3 separate regions of the Homo sapiens genome follow, and regions 2 and 3 are each linked to region 1. The links are contacts of gene promoters, found by promoter capture Hi-C in blood cells and fetal thymus (Javierre and others, 2016). All regions are on one chromosome and are shown on one strand. Each heading gives the region's core, a stretch centred on a gene start or on the middle of the fragment in contact. The rest is flanking DNA. Distances are from core to core; before and after follow the strand shown. Region 1 holds the start of THRAP3 (thyroid hormone receptor associated protein 3). Region 2 overlaps COL8A2 (collagen type VIII alpha 2 chain). Region 3 overlaps THRAP3 (thyroid hormone receptor associated protein 3).

Region 1 (2,906 bases), core at 255-2,754:
ATGGAATTACACTGGATATAGAGGTTTTTAATCAAATCACTTCTTACAGAAACCTCAACACAACTCTCTTACAAAATGCAATTAAGCCCAAATGGCTGCAGTAAAACTTATCATTAACGTATGAACATTGGCTCACAAAATACATCTCCCGGCAAAGAACAAACTGAGCCCGATTTGCTCCACAAGTTGTTCATGGCAGGAGCCGGTTTTGGCTATTTAACAAGCTTCTAAATCATAATACACACGTCAGACTGTCTAGAATTACAGAACAGACTACAACAGTACTTCCACAAACGAAAAAAGTCAGGGTCATCTGAAACAGAAGAAAAATAACGGTGTGATACACGCCTCATCTCTCTCGGCGCACACTCTAAAAAAAAAACCTATAAATGATGATATTACTTTTTAACAGTGGCTAAGTGATTTTTATTTTATCTCATTTAGTCTCCACAATAACCCTGTAAAGGGGTCACTGTTACTTACTGCTGTTTTAGTGATAAGAAAACTGAGGCAGCTGGAGATGAAGACTCTTGACCTAAGATCAAAAGATAGCAGGGCCAAGATTTAAACCCAAGCCAACTGGTTCAGGATACTTCTGTTATGCTCCCAACAGAAGCTTCACTGCCTCTCTCTTGCCAGGTCCTTCTATACTCTCAGAGGCTTTCCCTTCACCCCAAGTAACAAATTCCCCATAAACACTGTACTGCCACTGATGGCTTCCAACTTCTGTGCACCATTGCTGCTCCCCAGCTTCTGCTGCCATGCTCCACCCCTAAGATTTGTAAAGTCAAAGACAACAGTTGATAAAAGTTGCTTAGGTGCTAAGAGAAGCAAAATAATTCACCTCATATAAGCAGAACTCACGCCGATTGCCACTGGAATGCAAGCCGGCCTCAGCTCCAGCCCAAGAAAAAAGTGAGAACTCTAATATTCCCGTAGGAGACAAATTTGGACTATCCCGTTTTTGGCCACCAGGCTGGAAAGAACGGAAGCGGTACTAACATTTACTGAGTGGCAGCCACATGCGCCCTAGGAGAAGACCGAACCAGGCCAATGGGGACTGGGTGGGGGGAAGGGCACTCGGGAGTTCCGGGAAAAGAAATCCAAATAACGGGGTTCATACGACCAAAACGGGAGGAGTAGGGAGTGGCCGCCCCCAGGCCGACTGCAAGATAAAGCGGCGTAGGAGCTGCTCTGCAGAGAAGGCGACCAAGAGCCTTGGGAGCTAGGCCGGGGCCAGGGGAAGACCTAAAGGGCGGGGAAGGGGAGGAGCCGGAGGGAACGGAGCCCGCTCAGAAGAGGCCAGGGTGTAAGCTGGGGGGAGCGACTCCACGCCAGGCCTTCCCCGAGCCCCTGACCAGCAGCTGGGGAAAAAAGATAAGAGACGAAACCACTAGAGCCGGTTAAGCTGCCCTAACTTCCATCAGAGGCGCTCACTCACCTGGGCCTACCACAGAGATCGCAGCTGCAGCTCGCAACGGAACAACCAGCCCGAACCTCGCCCCCGCCCCACAGCGCGCCCAGCGTCTCCGCTCTCCGACGACGGCGACGGCGTAGACCCGCTGCCTCCTGGGAAATGTAGTCCTACGCCCTCCTCTCCTGGCCGACTTGGCTGCCATCAGAACTACGTTTCCCAAAAGACAAGGCGAGCGTTGGGCCCGCCGCTTTGCGTCACGCGCTCGGTTGTCGGCGGTCACGTGGGTTGCTCGGGGCCGTCCCCTCCCCCCGCCTGGGTGGCCTGGAGATGGAGGAGGGCGGTGGACGGAAGGGGCGGGGGCGTTGCTGACGCCACTGCCCCCACCATTTTGGAACCAGCCTGGAGGGAGAGTCTGAGCCCCACCCACTCCGGGCCAGCTTGCCTTGTTGAAAAGCTTCCGAGTTGGAAGTCGAGTCTCCCTGTTTTTGGTCTCTGCTGCGCTCCCTTCCGCTTTGTGACCTTGAGCAAATTCATCCCTCCTCTCTAAACTTGTTTCCTCCCCTGTGAAATGAGACTTGTAATTTCTACCCCACAGCGATGTTGCCAGGCTCCGACAAAGTAAGGCACAGGAAAGCCTCAAGCACCCTGAAAGCGCAACGCAAATGGAGGGGTTGGTTTGGTTTCGTTTTTTTAATTTTAATTGTGTGACCTCATTCGGAGACCCAGAAACCGCCTCTCCCCAGCCTGCCTTCTGTAACTATGATTTTCTGACTGTCGTCCTGGGAAGTTTGTTAAAATGGGTGCTACTGGGGTATTGAACCAAAAGTTTACCGGGGAGTGTCTCCCTGCAGTCTACATTTTAAACCGATCTCTCGGGTGATTCTTACCCACCTACAAATTTGAGAATCTCTGCGTTTATCAGTTTTGCACAGGCTGGTTTCCTCCGGAATTTCTGCTCTAGTGTCTCTGAACATTTAAGACCCATCTCATAGGTCATCTGTGATGCTTTCAAAGTTGACTAGCTCCTCCCTATGCCTGTGTTCCCACAGTAAGTTTGCATCTTACTCTGTAAGTATCGGGGCCTTCCCCGACAAGACTGTGAGCTCTTTGAGAGCCGAGATCAGTTTTGATGGATTTCTGCACCTCCAGAGAAAAGTAGACACAGTACACATCAATTAATAAAGAAATCTAATGCTCTTCCTAAGAGAAAAGCTGCAAGGCTCAACTCAAGTAGCAGACCACGCCACATCAGCCCTTGCCCTTAGTGGCTTCGGCAGCATTCCTTGCACACGGCTTACTCTTTCTTCCTTCTTTGAGCACTTCTTGTGGTCGACGTACTGCGCAGTGCTTCTTAAAACGTTCTAATTTAATTGATTTTATTTTTATTTATTTATTTATTTATTTATTGAGATTCTCCCTATGTCGCCCAGGCTGGAGGGCAGTGGTGCGATTTTGGGTCACTGCAACATCTGCCTCCCAGGTTCAAGCG
Region 2 (2,906 bases), core at 282-2,781, 100 kb after region 1:
TCAAGCCATTCTTCTGCTTCAGACTCCTGAGTAGCTGGGACTACAGGTGAGCACCACCATGCCCAGCTAATTTTTGTATTTTTAGTAGAGATGGAGTTTCACTGTATCGGCCAGGCTGGTCTCAAACTCCTGATCTCATGATCTACCCGCCTTGGCCTCCCAAAGTGCTAGGATTATAGGAGTGAGCCACCGTGCCATGCCTGGTCTTTTTTTTTTTTATTAAGACGGAGTCTCACTCTGTCGCCCAGGCTGGAGTGCAGTGGCGCGATCTTGGCTCACTGCAACCTCCACCTCCTGGATTCAAGCGATTCTCCTGCCTCACCCTCCTGAGTAGCTGGGATTACAGGTGTGCACCACCAGGCCCGGCTAATTTTTGTATTTTTAGTAGAGACAAGGTTTCACCATGTTGGCCAGGCTGGTCTTGAACTCCTGACTTCAAGTGAGCCACCCACCTTGGCCTTCCAAAGTGCTGGGATTATAGGTGTTAGCCACCATGCCTGGCCTTTCTTCCTTCCTTCCTTCCTTCCTTCCTCTCTCTCTCTCTATTTTTTTTTTTTTTTTTGAGACGGAGTCTCGCTCTGTCGCCCAGGCTGGGGTGCAATGGCATGATCTCGGCTCACTGCATCCTCTGCCTCCCGGGTTCAAGTGATTCTCTTGCCTCAGCCTCCTGAGTAGCTGGGATTACAGGCACACGCTGCCAAGCCTGGCTAATTTTTATATTTTTAGTAGAGATGGGGTTTCACCACGTTGGTCAGGCTGTTCTCGAACTCCTGACCTTGTGATCTGCCCGCCTCGGCCTCCCAAAGTGCTGGGGTTACAGGCGTGAGCCATTGTGCCCGTCCTCTTTTTATTTATTTTTTTGAGATGGAGTCTCTGTCACCCAGGCTGGAGTGCAGTGGTGCAATCTTGGCTCACTGCAACCTCCACCTCCTGGGTTTGAGCAATTCTCCTGCTTCAGCCTCCCTAGTAGCTGGGATTACAGATGTGTACCATCACTTCTGCTAATTTTTGTATTTTTAGTAGAGACGGGGTTTCGCCATGTTGGTCAGGCTGTTCTTGAACTCCTGACCTCAAGTGATCCGCCCGCCTGAGCCTCCCAAAAGGAATGGAATCTCAATTGTCGTACGTCTACAGTGTGTGGGGCATCTTCATAGCACAAGGGGTTTTTTGTGGAGGGGGAAAGAGGAATAGCAGGCATGAGAAGGTCAGACCCAGAGAGAGCCCAGAACCGTGAGGGCTGGGATGGTATTTTCTATTATCTAGGAACCCTTGGTGGTCCCTGGTGGGTCCTGCAAGGGAGGGAAGCCTCTGTGAAGAGGCGGGGCCTGAGCTGGGGGTCCTGGCCTCTGGTCTCAATTCTGCCACTGGCTGCTGTGTGACCTCAGGAGAGTTTTCCTCTGAGTCTGTGTAACCCCATCCATGAGCTGGGCCAGCAGTGCCAGCCTGCCTCTCCTTACAACCTGTGGTGAGGAGAAACCTAGATTGCGGGGTAGAGGGGTCAGTTATCTCCTGAAAGATCCCAGGTGGCCAACTCTTTGGTCTCCACACCCGTCCAGTGTCCACAGCCCCCACCACCCGGAAGTTCTCCTTTCTGGCTAGCCTCCTTCCTTCCCACTGTGCTGGCTGCCACCAAGCTCTGCGTGGGCACTCCAGGCCACGCTCCCTGACAGGCGACCACGGCTCTGCTCATGGCAAGCATTCTTTTCATAGTTCCTGGAGCACAGCAAATCCAGCTGCTTAGCCAGGAATGCAGAGCCCCCTCCTGCAGCGGCAGCAGGGGCTGGATTGGGGTTGGAACCCCTGGGGGTCAGGCAGGAGGGACTGAGGGGGTGCGGGGGACTGACCTTCACCCCAGTACACACCATGCCTCAGCTTGGGGGAGCCAGAAGGTTGTCCTCATCTTTGGACTTGCTTAGCTTGGGGCCAAGCTCTGGGACCATCCTTCCCTGGCTGGGGGAACTTGGGCAAATGGTGAACTTGGGTTCACCACTGTGCCAGGCCAGTGATTATATTTATAATAGGGCATATTTATTTAGGATTCCTATATGCCAAGCACTGCTCTGAGTCCGTTACACAAAATTAACTTGTTTAATCCTCACAAATGCTCTGTGAAGCTGAGCTGGGCAGCTTTATATGGGCTGGGCAGAGCTGGATTCAGATTCCACCCCTTTCACTTCCTAGCCTGGTTACCTTGGAGAATGGATGTGACCTCTCTGGGACCTAGCACTCTTCCTCAGTAAAATGGGACAGCAGTTCCAGCCTTCCAGGGTTACGGGAGTAAATAATGCCTGGAGTTCCCATTTCATTGATGAAGAAGCTGAGGCCCAGGTGGAGGTCTCATGCTAGTAAGAGCTAGGGCTGAGATAAGGATGCATGCAGCTGGGCTCCAGAGAGGTCCTCTTAATCCGACATGATTTTTAAAGCAAGACTCTTAGTCCAGAGCCTGCCCGTAGTAGGAGCTCAGAAATGGGAAATTTTCCCATGAGCCCCATCTCTGGCAGGAGCCAATTGTTCACCTCATGGCCATCAGCACCTCAGTCTGGAAAGTTGGAATGGGGAAGCGGGCCTGAGGCCCTGGCCAGCCTCCCTGGAACCCTGCAGCTCTCAGAAGCTGGTTGGGGGTGGGGGGCGGGGGGTGCAGACTGTCCCACCCACATCTGGTCTGGGATTTAGCCAACAGCGGCAGGCTCTGTGCAAAGGGGAGACGTCGCCAGGGGAGGGGCTCCAGGAGGGGATTAGGGAAGGCAGCTGGGGGTGAAGGTTAAGAACAGAGTCCCATTGAAGTCGGCTCAGGCACCGCCCTGGCTTACCCACTCACCCCAGCTTCCTATTTGTAAGACAGAGGGGGCCTTGGCCCACTGGAGTGGACTCCTGAGGCACCTGATAGTAGCTGCCCACTCTGCTCC
Region 3 (2,906 bases), core at 104-2,603, 65 kb before region 1:
TACTCGGGAGGCTGAGGCAGGAGAATGGCGTGAACCCAGGAGGCGGAGCTTGCGGTGAGTGGAGATCGCGCCACTGCACTCCAGCCTGGGTGACAGAGGGAGACCCCGTCTCAAAAAAAAAAAGAAGAGAGAGAGAGAGACTATCTCAAAAATACAATACAATACAATAAAATTGCTACGTTATTTGATGGGGAAGGGCCGTACTATAGACTTTGGCAACCCAGCTAGGAACGAAGAAGTGGATCCAGGATGGCTTCACAGGCAAAGCTATCTTAAATACAAGAAACAGCATTGGACTTGGGGGTGCAGTGATGAACAGAGAGTGAGCCAGTCACTAAGGACTGAAGAGATACTTCATCACCCCAGGGATACTGCCCCCCTTCAAAAGCACACAATCACTCTGTGACACATACTCTCCAGTGAACACAGGTGGACATGAAAGTATCACCACTGAAGCTTAAGACAGAAGGGGGAATACAGCAGAATGTCCCCAGGGAGAAAGGCTAGGCGACACCACTTAGGCCACTAAAGCACTGAGGATCAAGAAGGAGCATATCTCACCGTGCGAGGTCCTCATCAAAAGAGTCCATCCGGACATTGACCTGTGCCTCTCGAGTAATGGAAAAGGAAGACTTTCCTGTGGGAAAATCTCCTTTCGCTCCCAGCTTGTCTCGGCTCTCAGAGGTCTTTCTTGGGGGAGGTGATGAGCTTTTCTCCTGGACTGCTTTATAAGCAGTCACTCGGAAATTCTTCTCAGGCACAAAGCCCCTGTGCCCACCTTCGCTTCTCTTGCCCCGATCTTCCTTTTTGGATCTCTCTGGGAAAGACTCCTCCTCCAGCTCCTCTGTTTTTCTCTGCTTTTCCTTCCCTGGAGGTGCATATACCAGGCCCTCCCATTTGCCTGACTTCTCCTCCTCCTGGTTTTTGTTTGCACCTATGACTTTAGACATAAATTTGGGTTCATCATCAAACTCAGATTCCTTTCTTCCCTTAGCTTTGTCCTTATCTTGATCATCCATCTCCTCCTTGTGGAAGTCAGCCATCTTCTTCTCAAAGTCATCTCGGAGCTTATACCTTTTGGGAGACTGACTGCCCCGAAAAGGCTTCTCAGAATCAGTTTTGGGAGCAAAAGAATCAGATTTCATTTTTCCATCACCCAAGCCTGTGTCAGAGAAGCTCCCTTTCTCTTTTATTTTTTCTTTATCGGTATTTGTTTGTTTCTGTTCCTTATCTTTTCCATTCTCTGTCTTCTGCTCTTCTAGATACCTATTTATAAAAACACAAGAGAGAGACACAAGAGGCTTCTTAACAGCATGCTCTAAAATAGTGCCTTACCGTTTTTGGTTTTTGATTCTCTGAAAAAAACATGTCTTATGGATTCCTGTATTACCAAAGGACTTTCTAGGCGGTTACTTCGTAATAATTTCTGAAAACTGCCATTCACAGTTCTATGAACTTGCCAATTAAGAGAAAAATATATGATCCATGGAGTTGTGTCTTACAAAAGCAACCAAAGAGAACAACAAAAGTTATTTTTAGGATACTCAAAAACAAAAACAAAAACCTACTTACCTGTAATGTGATCTAGGGCAAAAAATAACTTAAGGTCTTACCCAACCTTCACTCAGTCACTTAAAATCTGCTTTCAGCAAAGTTAACATAGAATGTTCAACCTTGGACTGTTTTGCTTTTATACAACTCACATTTGGAAATACAAGTCTAAAAAGAGACTTCAAATTTGCTTCAAGTCACCTAGAAGATCTAAATACGAAATATACTGTGAACACAAATAAAAACAAAATACATGTTAATGGGGGAGAGGGTGACAGCAGCAAAAATCATCATTCTCTTTCTTATGGAAAAGCAGAGCTCATGCTCAAGTCTTCTAAAGAGATTCACAGTCCTGGCATGGAACAAAACTTATGTTTTAAAATAGACTTACTTGGGAGCTACACTATGAGGACCCAAAGGCATAAGAATGACATAATGAACTTTGGGAACTCAAGGAGAAGGATGGGAGGGGGCAAGGATAAAAAACTACACACTGGGTACAGTGTACACTGCTCAGGTGATGGGTGCACCAAAACCTCAGAAATCACCATTAACAAACTTATCCATGTAACCAAACACCACCTATTCGCCCAAAAACCTATTGAAATAAATAAATAAATAAATAAAATAAAACAGACTTACTGAAGGCAAGTACAGATTCAAAACATCTCATCTGTACCATTAATGCAGAAAGCTTAATCAAGTCAAAGTCGTGTTAATACAGCCAAGAAGAATCAAGGGATCAAAAAACATGCTAAATACGATAAAAGAAAAAAAAAGGGGGAGCCACTTGCTGGGTTAGTCCCTCTTGACCACAACCTGGTCCCAGTGCAACTTCCCTGTAACCTCTCTGCCATCCCAATCCATCCAACCATACAAACAAAGATTCATGTTCCAACTCACCGTGTCCCCCAGGGGAGAAAGACGGAAGCACTGTCATGTCCTCTCCTAACACGCAGCCGTGTTGGCTTCTACTGGGACATACACCCACCTTGTGGTTTTAAAACAAGGCCTTCCTGGACTATGCCTTGGCCTTTCCCATTCTGCCCAGTCTCCTCAACTGGAGGGTATTGAGGGTGCAGCTCTTCACCATGATAGGCTGATGCAGATCGAACATAGTAGATGGTGGGTGCTAGAGGGTCTAAGAGCTCCAATGGCCATTCATTTTGGCAAAGACCATACTTTTTTTTGATAGCTGACCCACAAATCTCTACTGTTCTTTGGCTTACATTGGTAGAATCCAAGGCAAATTTTAAATGTGAAAACATCATTGCAGAGTAGTCTAAAGAAAGTTTATGCTGCAATACAAATTCAGGAAGGTAGGAAAGCTAGAGTTAACCTAAAGGTTTCCTTGG

The links. The method cuts DNA at HindIII sites, captures the fragments that hold promoters and counts their contacts. A CHiCAGO score of 5 or more calls a contact.
Region 2: a contact is called between a fragment that was not itself captured here and the fragment with the promoter of THRAP3 in region 1, in 1 of 17 cell types (M1 macrophages). The highest score is 5.7, in M1 macrophages.
Region 3: a contact is called between a fragment that was not itself captured here and the fragment with the promoter of THRAP3 in region 1, in 10 of 17 cell types (naive B cells, endothelial precursors, total B cells and 7 more). The highest score is 7.5, in naive B cells.

Annotation. Positions count from the first base shown.
Region 1 is chr1:36,223,041-36,225,946 of GRCh38, reverse strand. THRAP3 (thyroid hormone receptor associated protein 3) reads right to left here and starts at 1,504. Exons shown (of 12, transcript NM_005119.4): 1 at 1,442-1,504. RefSeq lists enhancers at 1,058-1,586, 1,418-1,627, 1,587-2,114, 2,028-2,327, 2,538-2,707 and a silencer at 1,758-1,877. The HindIII fragment of the contact is 1,255 bases long and covers 619-1,873 here.
Region 2 is chr1:36,118,404-36,121,309 of GRCh38, reverse strand. All of the region lies in intron 1 of COL8A2 (collagen type VIII alpha 2 chain), which reads left to right. Among named protein-coding and RNA genes, the nearest start is that of COL8A2, 5.4 kb to the left of the region's middle. The HindIII fragment of the contact is 6,305 bases long and covers 1-2,906 here.
Region 3 is chr1:36,287,420-36,290,325 of GRCh38, reverse strand. It overlaps THRAP3 (thyroid hormone receptor associated protein 3), which reads right to left. Exons shown (of 12, transcript NM_005119.4): 5 at 562-1,266. Among named protein-coding and RNA genes, the nearest start is that of SH3D21, 17 kb to the left of the region's middle. The HindIII fragment of the contact is 1,789 bases long and covers 459-2,247 here.